Regions from separate parts of the Homo sapiens genome. Here region 1 is linked to region 2. The links are contacts of gene promoters, found by promoter capture Hi-C in blood cells and fetal thymus (Javierre and others, 2016). All regions are on one chromosome and are shown on one strand. Each heading gives the region's core, a stretch centred on a gene start or on the middle of the fragment in contact. The rest is flanking DNA. Distances are from core to core; before and after follow the strand shown.

What was found. The method cuts DNA at HindIII sites, captures the fragments that hold promoters and counts their contacts. A CHiCAGO score of 5 or more calls a contact.
Region 1: a contact is called between a fragment that was not itself captured here and the fragment with the promoter of SP1 in region 2, in 1 of 17 cell types (total B cells). The highest score is 5.8, in total B cells.

The regions. Positions count from the first base shown.
Region 1 is chr12:56,635,192-56,639,448 of GRCh38, forward strand. It overlaps ATP5F1B (ATP synthase F1 subunit beta), which reads right to left. Exons shown (of 10, transcript NM_001686.4): 9 at 3,915-4,116; 10 at 2,984-3,232. The coding sequence ends at 3,132. It also overlaps a transcript of BAZ2A not described here. Among named protein-coding and RNA genes, the nearest start is that of SNORD59B, 6.4 kb to the right of the region's middle. RefSeq lists enhancers at 1-266, 151-663, 1,547-1,716, 1,690-2,201, 1,694-1,988. The HindIII fragment of the contact is 1,353 bases long and covers 1,727-3,079 here.
Region 2 is chr12:53,378,059-53,382,506 of GRCh38, forward strand. SP1 (Sp1 transcription factor) reads left to right here and starts at 2,118. Exons shown (of 6, transcript NM_138473.3): 1 at 2,118-2,240; 2 at 3,601-3,755; 3 at 4,052-4,448. The coding sequence starts at 2,234. RefSeq lists enhancers at 1,211-1,711, 1,615-1,914, 1,747-2,041, 2,892-3,650, 4,063-4,312 and a silencer at 2,155-2,784. The HindIII fragment of the contact is 463 bases long and covers 1,798-2,260 here.

The sequences.
Region 1 (4,257 bases), core at 1,153-3,652, 3.3 Mb after region 2:
GGGAGGAAGAGAACGGATCCCAGAAAGAGACAGAAACTTCTGCGGTGAAGTGGGGGATGGTGGTAGGTCCGAAAGGAAGGACTTGGGAGAGCTCTGCCCGCGCTCCCAGGGCACCAGCAAAGACCGCTTCACAAAAGAGGCCGGGGAAGGCAGAAAGAGCTACATGGGCTCCTAGGAGGCCTAGGGGTGCAGGAGAGGGAACTCAAGGCCGAGCCTGCTGGGGGTCACGCGCAGCGCCCTACTAGGTGAACTGGTTCCCCGTGTTTCAGCTCCTCAGGGCTCCATCCCTACGGCTGTGGGGCCTTTGGAATCAGGAAGCCACGAAGGCAAAAACCTCCTATCCTCTCAACCTCAATCCTGCGTCCCACTCAGTGCCCTCAGTGACTGTAGTGTGGGGGCCATCAATAGCAGCCCTGGTGAGGCTGATGTGGGACCATGAGAATCGACTTTGGTTCAGTTTTCCCCCAACCACCACCACCCTTGCTTCAGTCTCTGGGGCAACAGGAAGCAGCTGCTCAGTGCAGCCCCCACCTGAAGGTGGGTCAAGGTGGGGGAGGAGAGAAGACAGACTTAAAAGGCCTTAGAAAAATGAGAGGGAGGGGAGGCATTTTAAAGACCTTCCAGCACTGCCAAAAGCCGGCTTTACTTTTGTGGGGGCTAGCAGTGAGTACTGTCAAAATTTCCTTGAATCTCAACAGCTTAAATGGGGAGGAGCAGGGGCAATCCTCCACGGGGCGGCGGGGAGGGGGCTGGGAAAGCCCTGGCCTAAGATGCGTCTCAGGCTCTTCCTTAGAACTGGGGCTTGCCCATACTCAGGATCCCGTGGTCGGCAGCCTCGCTAGCTGAGCCCTGTGCCCCCCGTCCCCCAGAGTCCTGTTTCCTCTCCTTCAGCCCCCAAATGAGCAAAGGTTAGGCCCCACCCCTGCTGAGTCAGCCAGGGAGGGAGTAGGCATCCCTCAGGCCTTCCCCGGGGCTGGTCCCCATACTCACCCATGTCAGGCTGGCACAGCTCCAGGCTGGGACCACCCAGCTCCTCACTGTCCTTGGGCCTCCACTTCACGTAAAGGTTGGTGTTGGATCCTCCCAAACTGTGAGCTGGGAACTAGCAAGAATCAAAAAGCCAGTGTATGCTTCCTGCGAACCACACAGCCTGAACTGCTGTAGGGTGATGTCCCTGTGTGACAGACTGGGGTGGGGAGGGAGGAGGGAAGGGCGGGGCTTTCTCTGGGTGGAGAGAGGGAGGAGGCGAGGACAGGGCAGACCAGGAGAAATATGGAGGAAGGTTAGAGAGCTGTGTTGACACTCCAGTGGCATGGTAGAAGAGGCCGGCAAAGGGGGAAGGAAACAAATAGTTGCAGCTACTGAGAGGGAGAAGGTTCTCGATAAACGCTGAAGGACGTGAACATGTTGGGGGAAGGGGTGGAGGGATGCAAAAGACCTTTAGGATTTCAGTTCCCAGGTCTGTATCGGGTGACGTGAGAAAACAAAGCAGAAAGGGCTGACCTGTACCCTAGGGCTTTTTCTACCAGCTTCTTACCCACTCCAGAGTCAGGACCTAGAGGAAGTGTCCACACCCCCATAACTCAGCATTTCCCCAAATCCCAGCTTTTCTGGGAGCAAACTACCAGCACAAGCAGCTCAGGGGCTCCACCTTCTGTCCAGATCATGACACAGGAGAGACTGCGGGAGAGGCTGCTGCCAAGGACGTCACAGGCAGATGGAAGGAAGCTTAGAGGCCCCTACTCCACCCCTGGCCCCGCGCCAAAAAGCCCTCCCCAACCTTCAGCCCCCAGGGGCCTCTGAATTGGAGCTCAGCTTGTCCCCGCCCAGCTTCTACCTAACTTGATGGACTCAGCGGGTGGAGCTTATAGATACAGGCTCCTCCCCAGGACAAAAGCCCCAGCTGGTCTGTAAACAGTCTTTAACTGAGAGCCACATCCCAGCAAATGGCCTTCATGGATTTGAAAATGGGATCAGAGTTCTTGCAGAGTCTCCAGTGCTACCGCGAGAGGGCAGTCGGATGGGTCTGGTCCCGGAAAAGAACACAAGAGGAACCCAATCTGACCTTGCACGCTTCTTTTAAATTGAAATGGTAAAATATATCTTCTACCCCTGCACCTCTCAGTCGGCTAAAATGAAGGGAAAATAACCTAACTTCATTAGTTTAGAAGCCCAAGCCAGCAACTCTGAAAATTGCTATTCCCTTGTAAGATTATCTTTTCTGGACTTTCATAAGGGGATCTTCACAGAGGGTGGACTAGGCCTTATGGTATTATATGCCTCTGCATAGCCTCAAGGAATCACAAGCAACTTTTATTTAGGCTTGCCCAAAATGTCAGGAAGTAGTTAAGTACACTTTCTGAAGACATGAAGGCCTAACCAAGATGTAGAGAACCCTTTTGATTCCATTTTAACAAAGATCAGTATTCTTCATCACTATTTCTTGAAAATTTAATTCATTAAACTCAGATTAACCCCTGGAAATAAGTTATTTCTAAAACGAGTTTTTCCCAATATGCCCTTCAAAAAAGTCCTATTTTTAACCAAGAAGTAGGGATGTGCCACATGGAATAGAGGCCAAAAAAAAAAAAAAATCAATTTGTATTGAACAAAAGGCCCAAAACTGAGGCCCTACTAAGATCACACTACCCACAGGAAACCCCTCACAAGAGGTACGGTTGTCCATCAACAAAAGAGAATGGCTATTTTTAAGGACCAATTTCAAACATACATGGCCCACTTCATGCTGAAACTGCTTCTTATAGCCACTCTAAAAATCTAATTGTTGAAAACAGTGCTGGTGATGTGAGACTACATACACCTGTAGCCCCAGCTACTCAGGAGACTGAGGTGGGAGATCTCGAGCCCAGGAGTTAGAGACCAGTCTTGGCAACACAGCCAGACACCGTGTCTCTAAAACTAAAATTAAATACATAACCCTTCAGTGTTGACTATGTTGTCAGAACCAAGAGAATCAGACAAATTCTGAGGGGTGTACATTTTATTGGAAACCTTAAATACTGTTCAGAAAGAATATATCTTCAATCAAGGCTCTTGTGCAGCCTACACAGAAAAATGAAGCTTTTTGGGTTAGGGGCAAGGAGAGAGACAGTACAGAGGACAAAGACCCCTCACGATGAATGCTCTTCAGCCAGCTTATCAGCTTTTGCCACAGCTTCTTCAATGGGTCCCACCATATAGAAGGCCTGTTCTGGGAGATGGTCATATTCACCTGTATGATGGGGGAGAAAAAAAAAAAGAGTAAGAAGCGGAGGGATATCAACTTTCTGCATCATGTAACATTCCTCACCACTTCAGGCCATCAGTTAGAATGTGATGAATTCATGTCATCTTAGAAAGCTTAAATTTCCCTCACAAATCAAATTTACAAGATATGATACAGTATGAATTAAGAACACATGGGCCAGGCACGGTGGCTTACACCTGTAATCCCAGCACTTTGGGAGGCCAAGGCAGGCGGATCACCTAAGGTCAGGAGTTCGAGACAAGCCCAGCCAACATGGTGAAACCCCATGGCTACTAAAAATACAAAAATTAGCCAGGCGTGGTGGCGTGTGCCTGTAATCCCAGCTACTTGGATGGTTGAGGCTGGAGAATCACTTGAACCCGGCAGGTGGAGGTTGCAGTGAGCCAAGATTGCACCAGTGTACTCCAGCCTGGGCGACAGAGACTCAGTCTCAAAAAATACATATAAAATAAAAGGGAGCTAGAGAATCAAGTAACAAATCACACTCAAATTAAATGTAGAGTATTTTCAAACAAAATCAATGGGTAAGTTTGTTTTTTAAATTAAAAAATATAATTAAGCATAGTATATTACATATATTGCTTGACGGTTGTTGGAATGGGACCACAGCACAGTAAACATTCAAGATTTGTACTCAAAATCTCACCTGCCAAAATCTGCTGGAATCCTTTGATGGTCTCCTTCAGGGGTACCAGCTTCCCCATATGACCTGTGAAGACCTCAGCAACCTGGAATGGCTGAGACAAGAAACGCTGTATTTTCCGTGCACGGGACACGGTCAACTTGTCTTCCTCAGAAAGTTCATCCATACCCAGGATGGCAATGATATCCTGGAGGGATTTGTAGTCCTATGAGAAAAAAGAAGACTGAGTTAAGTATTCTCATTCCTTTAATTTGGACAAGCTAACAAAGGGAAAGTTACATGCTAGGGGGCAGAGAAGGTGGTGGTGTTATGAGGGCCCTCAGCCAAGAAAGATCAGTGTCTTGTT
Region 2 (4,448 bases), core at 868-3,367:
GGGTTTCTCCATGTTGGTCAAGCTGGTCTTGAACTCCTGACCTCAGGTGATCCGCCTGCCTCGGCCTCCCAAAATGCTGGGATTACAGGCATGAGCCACCGCGCCCAGTCTATATATTTACTTATTTTGGAGCAAGGTCTTGCTTTGTTGTCCTGGCTGGAGTGCAGTGGCAGGATTTGAGCTCACTGCAGCCTCAACCTCCTGGGTTCAAGCGATTCTTCCACCCCAGCCTCCCGAGTAGCTGGGACTACTGGCGCACATCACCACGTCTGGCTAATTTTTGTTATTTTTTGTGGAGACGGGGTTTCACCATGTTGCCCAGGCTGGTCTTTAACTCCTGGGCTCAAGCGATCCGCCCGCCTCGGCCTCCCATAGTGCTGGGATTACAGGTCTGAGCCATTGCGCCCGGCGGCAGTTTAATTCCCTCAAGAATTTATAGAAAACTTTTGGTGGAACTATTCTGGGTTGGAATCTAACACTACAACTCATTTGCTTTGTGACCTTGGGTAAGTCACTTCTCAGCCTAAATGTCTTCACTTATAAAATACATAATATAGCTGATACTTAATAAAATCTTCCTTTTAAGGATGACATGGAATACTAACTGCCTCCCTGACTTAGGCACCTAACACGGTAGGCAGTCAGCAATCACTTCACCTTTTTACCTGTTTAAAGCAGCAGAGGCCTCAGTTCTTACCTTCAAAGGGCTTAAAATAGTTTAGGAGAATTCACATTTTAAAACATAAGAACATATAAGCAGGTGACAACATATAAGATACAAATACTGAAGGACATGACCTCATCGTGTCATTGACAAGCTATTAAGGCCGGCTCCACCAAAACACGGATAAAGAGGAGGCCAGAAATCCAGGTGCCTGCAGTAAAGTTTCTTAACCTTCGTGATTGCAAAAAGCTGGAGCTCAGCTATCTTGCTTTATGCATAGGCGGTATTTACTATTAAGGGGGAAAAAATGGAAGTGACTTATCCGCACTTTAGCCTCAAGGCTTGAAAAGTTAACCAGTCGTTTAAGTGGTTAGCGCCTTTGTCTGGGGGAACTTAATAAAATCGCGTTTTCTGGAGTCTCACGGAGACTCTGCATATTGGTCAGCTCAGTATTAACTTATTCGGTGAGTGCTGTCACCAGATCTCGTCCCGCCTGCATTCCCAGGGCTTGCAGCGACATTGAGGCATCTGCCCGCCTGTCCGACCACCCGGGAGGGGGGTAAGATTTGAGAGGTACTTTATAGGGGCAGTTAAATGAAGACGCAAACAAGTCCTAGTGTTGATGCGGAACTGCGCGCCGAATGCCTTGGCTCTGACACCTGTTGAGCTGCAGGACTCCGCTAAAGCGTCCCACCTAATGACTGTAACAACGTCCCCTGAGGAGGGCCAATATGGCGACGGTCTCCTCTTGGCATAGCCCTCTTCCCTCCCTCATGATGGGCAGCTCCAGTAACGCCCATTGGCTAACTAGGAGGCGGTGCCAGGCCTACTTCGTCCCCTCATTGGATTGAATAACTGAGGGAGCCGCCAATTCTCCTCTGCCACTCCAAGTTTCCGCCCTCAGTTAATTCGGCGTTTAATTGGCTTTTAGTTCACGTCAATATGCGTCCTTTCCTGTCTCTTTTCAGTCTAACTCCAATCATAACGTTCCTGGCTGCCCGCCTGATTTCTGATTGGTTTTAATCAGCTTCATCCTCTCCTATTCCTGCCTACTTCTTACCTCTCCGCCCACTAGGATTTTGCCCAAGCATATCCCGGATTCTGGTTGGCCGTTGTTCTGTCATTCCTATCAAAGCTTTGCCTATCCCTACGTCTCAGGGAGCCCGCCTGCCGGTTGACTGGTTTCCTTCCAAGCCAATCATCTCCAGCTCCCGCCCATCTTCACTTCCTGCATCCTTCATTGGCTTTTAACACTGAGAGGGCGGTCTTTTTAGGCGGACACCAGGCACGCAACTTAGTCTCACACGCCTTGGAGAGCAAGCGAGTCTTGCCATTGGATAATTCCACCGTCTTTCTTCTGCAAGTCCCTCCTTTCCCCCTCCCTCATTGGGCGGGGCAGCAGAGAAGGGGCGGGGCCTAGGTTGGGCTTGTGGCGCGCTGCTCCCTCCTCCTTACCCCCCCCTCCCTGTCCGGTCCGGGTTCGCTTGCCTCGTCAGCGTCCGCGTTTTTCCCGGCCCCCCCCAACCCCCCCGGACAGGACCCCCTTGAGCTTGTCCCTCAGCTGCCACCATGAGCGGTAAGGATGAGTCCACTCCAAGCTTAGGGGTGGGAGGCGAGTGAGGGGGCGCGCGCGAGGGCCGACCGGGCGATCCCCGCCGTGAAGCGGGGGCGGGCGGGAGGCGGCGGCGGCGGCGGCCTAGGTCCCGCCCGGGGCGGAGGGAAGGGAGGGAGACGGGGCAGTGGCGGGGCCTCCGAGGAGGAGGGGGATGGGCCGCCCGCCCCGGGGGAGGGGGCAGCGTGGCCTCGCCCGCCCCCTGCCCGCCCCGGCCACGGGGGACGGGCCTTACCCCCCACTACTCGGCCGCCCGCCTGAGGCTCCTCCCGCCGGGGGCTGGAGCCGCGGGGGCGGCCCGAGCAGCGAAGGCCCCGCCCGGGCCAACCGCCTGCCTGGTCCGCCCTCTGGTCGCCGCCTGCTCCAAGGCCCTCCTCCCCCCACTTTCCGTAGATTTCCCTTCCCCCCCGCCCCCCACCGTCCCGCCCTTTCCACGCCCCTCACCCCGAAACCGCCCTTTCCCTCAGGGCCCGCCCTCCGCCCCGAAACCTTCTGACTACTAACCTGTAGATCCCTTTAGTTCCTTAGCAGTATTCACAAATGTTTTTCTACTCACACTTTTTACTTCTTTTTCCCCTCTCGTTACTTTTCACACTTGGATTTTTGTTTGTCTTTTTTTTTTTTTTTTTTTTTGAGACGGAGTTTTCGCTCTTGTTACCCAGACTGGAATGCAATGGTGCGATCTCGGCTCACTGCAACCTCTGCCTCCCGGATTCAGGCGATTCTCCTGCCTCAGCCTCCGGGAGTAGCTGGAATTACAGGCATGCGCCACCACACCCGGCTAATTTTGTATTTTTAGTAGAGACAGGGTTTCTCCATGTTGGTCAGGCTGGTCTCAAAACTCCCGACCCCAGGTGATCTGCCTGCCTCCGCCTCCCAAAGTAATGGGATTACAGGCGTGACCACCGCGCCTGGCCTCTCCATCTCTTTTAAACTTAATTTTAGCAAGCTTTCCATGCACCCACATGTTGTTTTATGCCTTACCTGTCCTTTTCCTTTTTTTCCCTTAGGATACTTTTTCTTATTTAGAAACTCTCACCATGCCTACCGTCCTTCACATTTCCTATCCCCAAAGCACTTTTTGAATGTTTTCTTAGTTTAATTTTGTACAAGGGAGAATTAAGGCCCACTTTTGGCACATTGAACCTAGTTCATGTCCTGCATGCCCTGCAGCTCCCCTCTGCCCTCCAATCCATTTTCTTTATACTGGTGGCTTTCGCCTTCCTGTTAGTCATTGCTATTTCATCATAGCCTCCTTTTATCCTTCCTACTTCATTTCTTTTCTTCCCTCAAGTTTACGTTGTTTGTTTTTTAATTATTTTAGACCAAGATCACTCCATGGATGAAATGACAGCTGTGGTGAAAATTGAAAAAGGAGTTGGTGGCAATAATGGGGGCAATGGTAATGGTGGTGGTGCCTTTTCACAGGCTCGAAGTAGCAGCACAGGCAGTAGCAGCAGCACTGGAGGAGGAGGGCAGGTAAGTGATAATCATAGAGTGGGGAAGGTGTTGAGAAGATGTAAATATTCTTAGATAATTGCCTTACTCTTCACAGAAAGCGTTTTAGGGAGAGACTAAACCATTTTATAGATAAGGAAGTAAGAGAATGGAGATCCCCAAAGACAAAGGAGTTTCAGCAATACAGATAGGTCAGCTTTTTGTTTCTGTTTTTTGCTCCTTGTCTGCACTACGTTGCTGTTTATTTGTTGTATACTGCCCCCTAGGCTGGCAGCTGGGTGTCACTAACTCCTTTCCTCTCCCTTATTTTCGGCCAGGAGTCCCAGCCATCCCCTTTGGCTCTGCTGGCAGCAACTTGCAGCAGAATTGAGTCACCCAATGAGAACAGCAACAACTCCCAGGGCCCGAGTCAGTCAGGGGGAACAGGTGAGCTTGACCTCACAGCCACACAACTTTCACAGGGTGCCAATGGCTGGCAGATCATCTCTTCCTCCTCTGGGGCTACCCCTACCTCAAAGGAACAGAGTGGCAGCAGTACCAATGGCAGCAATGGCAGTGAGTCTTCCAAGAATCGCACAGTCTCTGGTGGGCAGTATGTTGTGGCTGCCGCTCCCAACTTACAGAACCAGCAAGTTCTGACAGGACTACCTGGAGTGATGCCTAATATTCAGTATCAAGTAATCCCACAGTTCCAGACCGTTGATGGGCAACAGC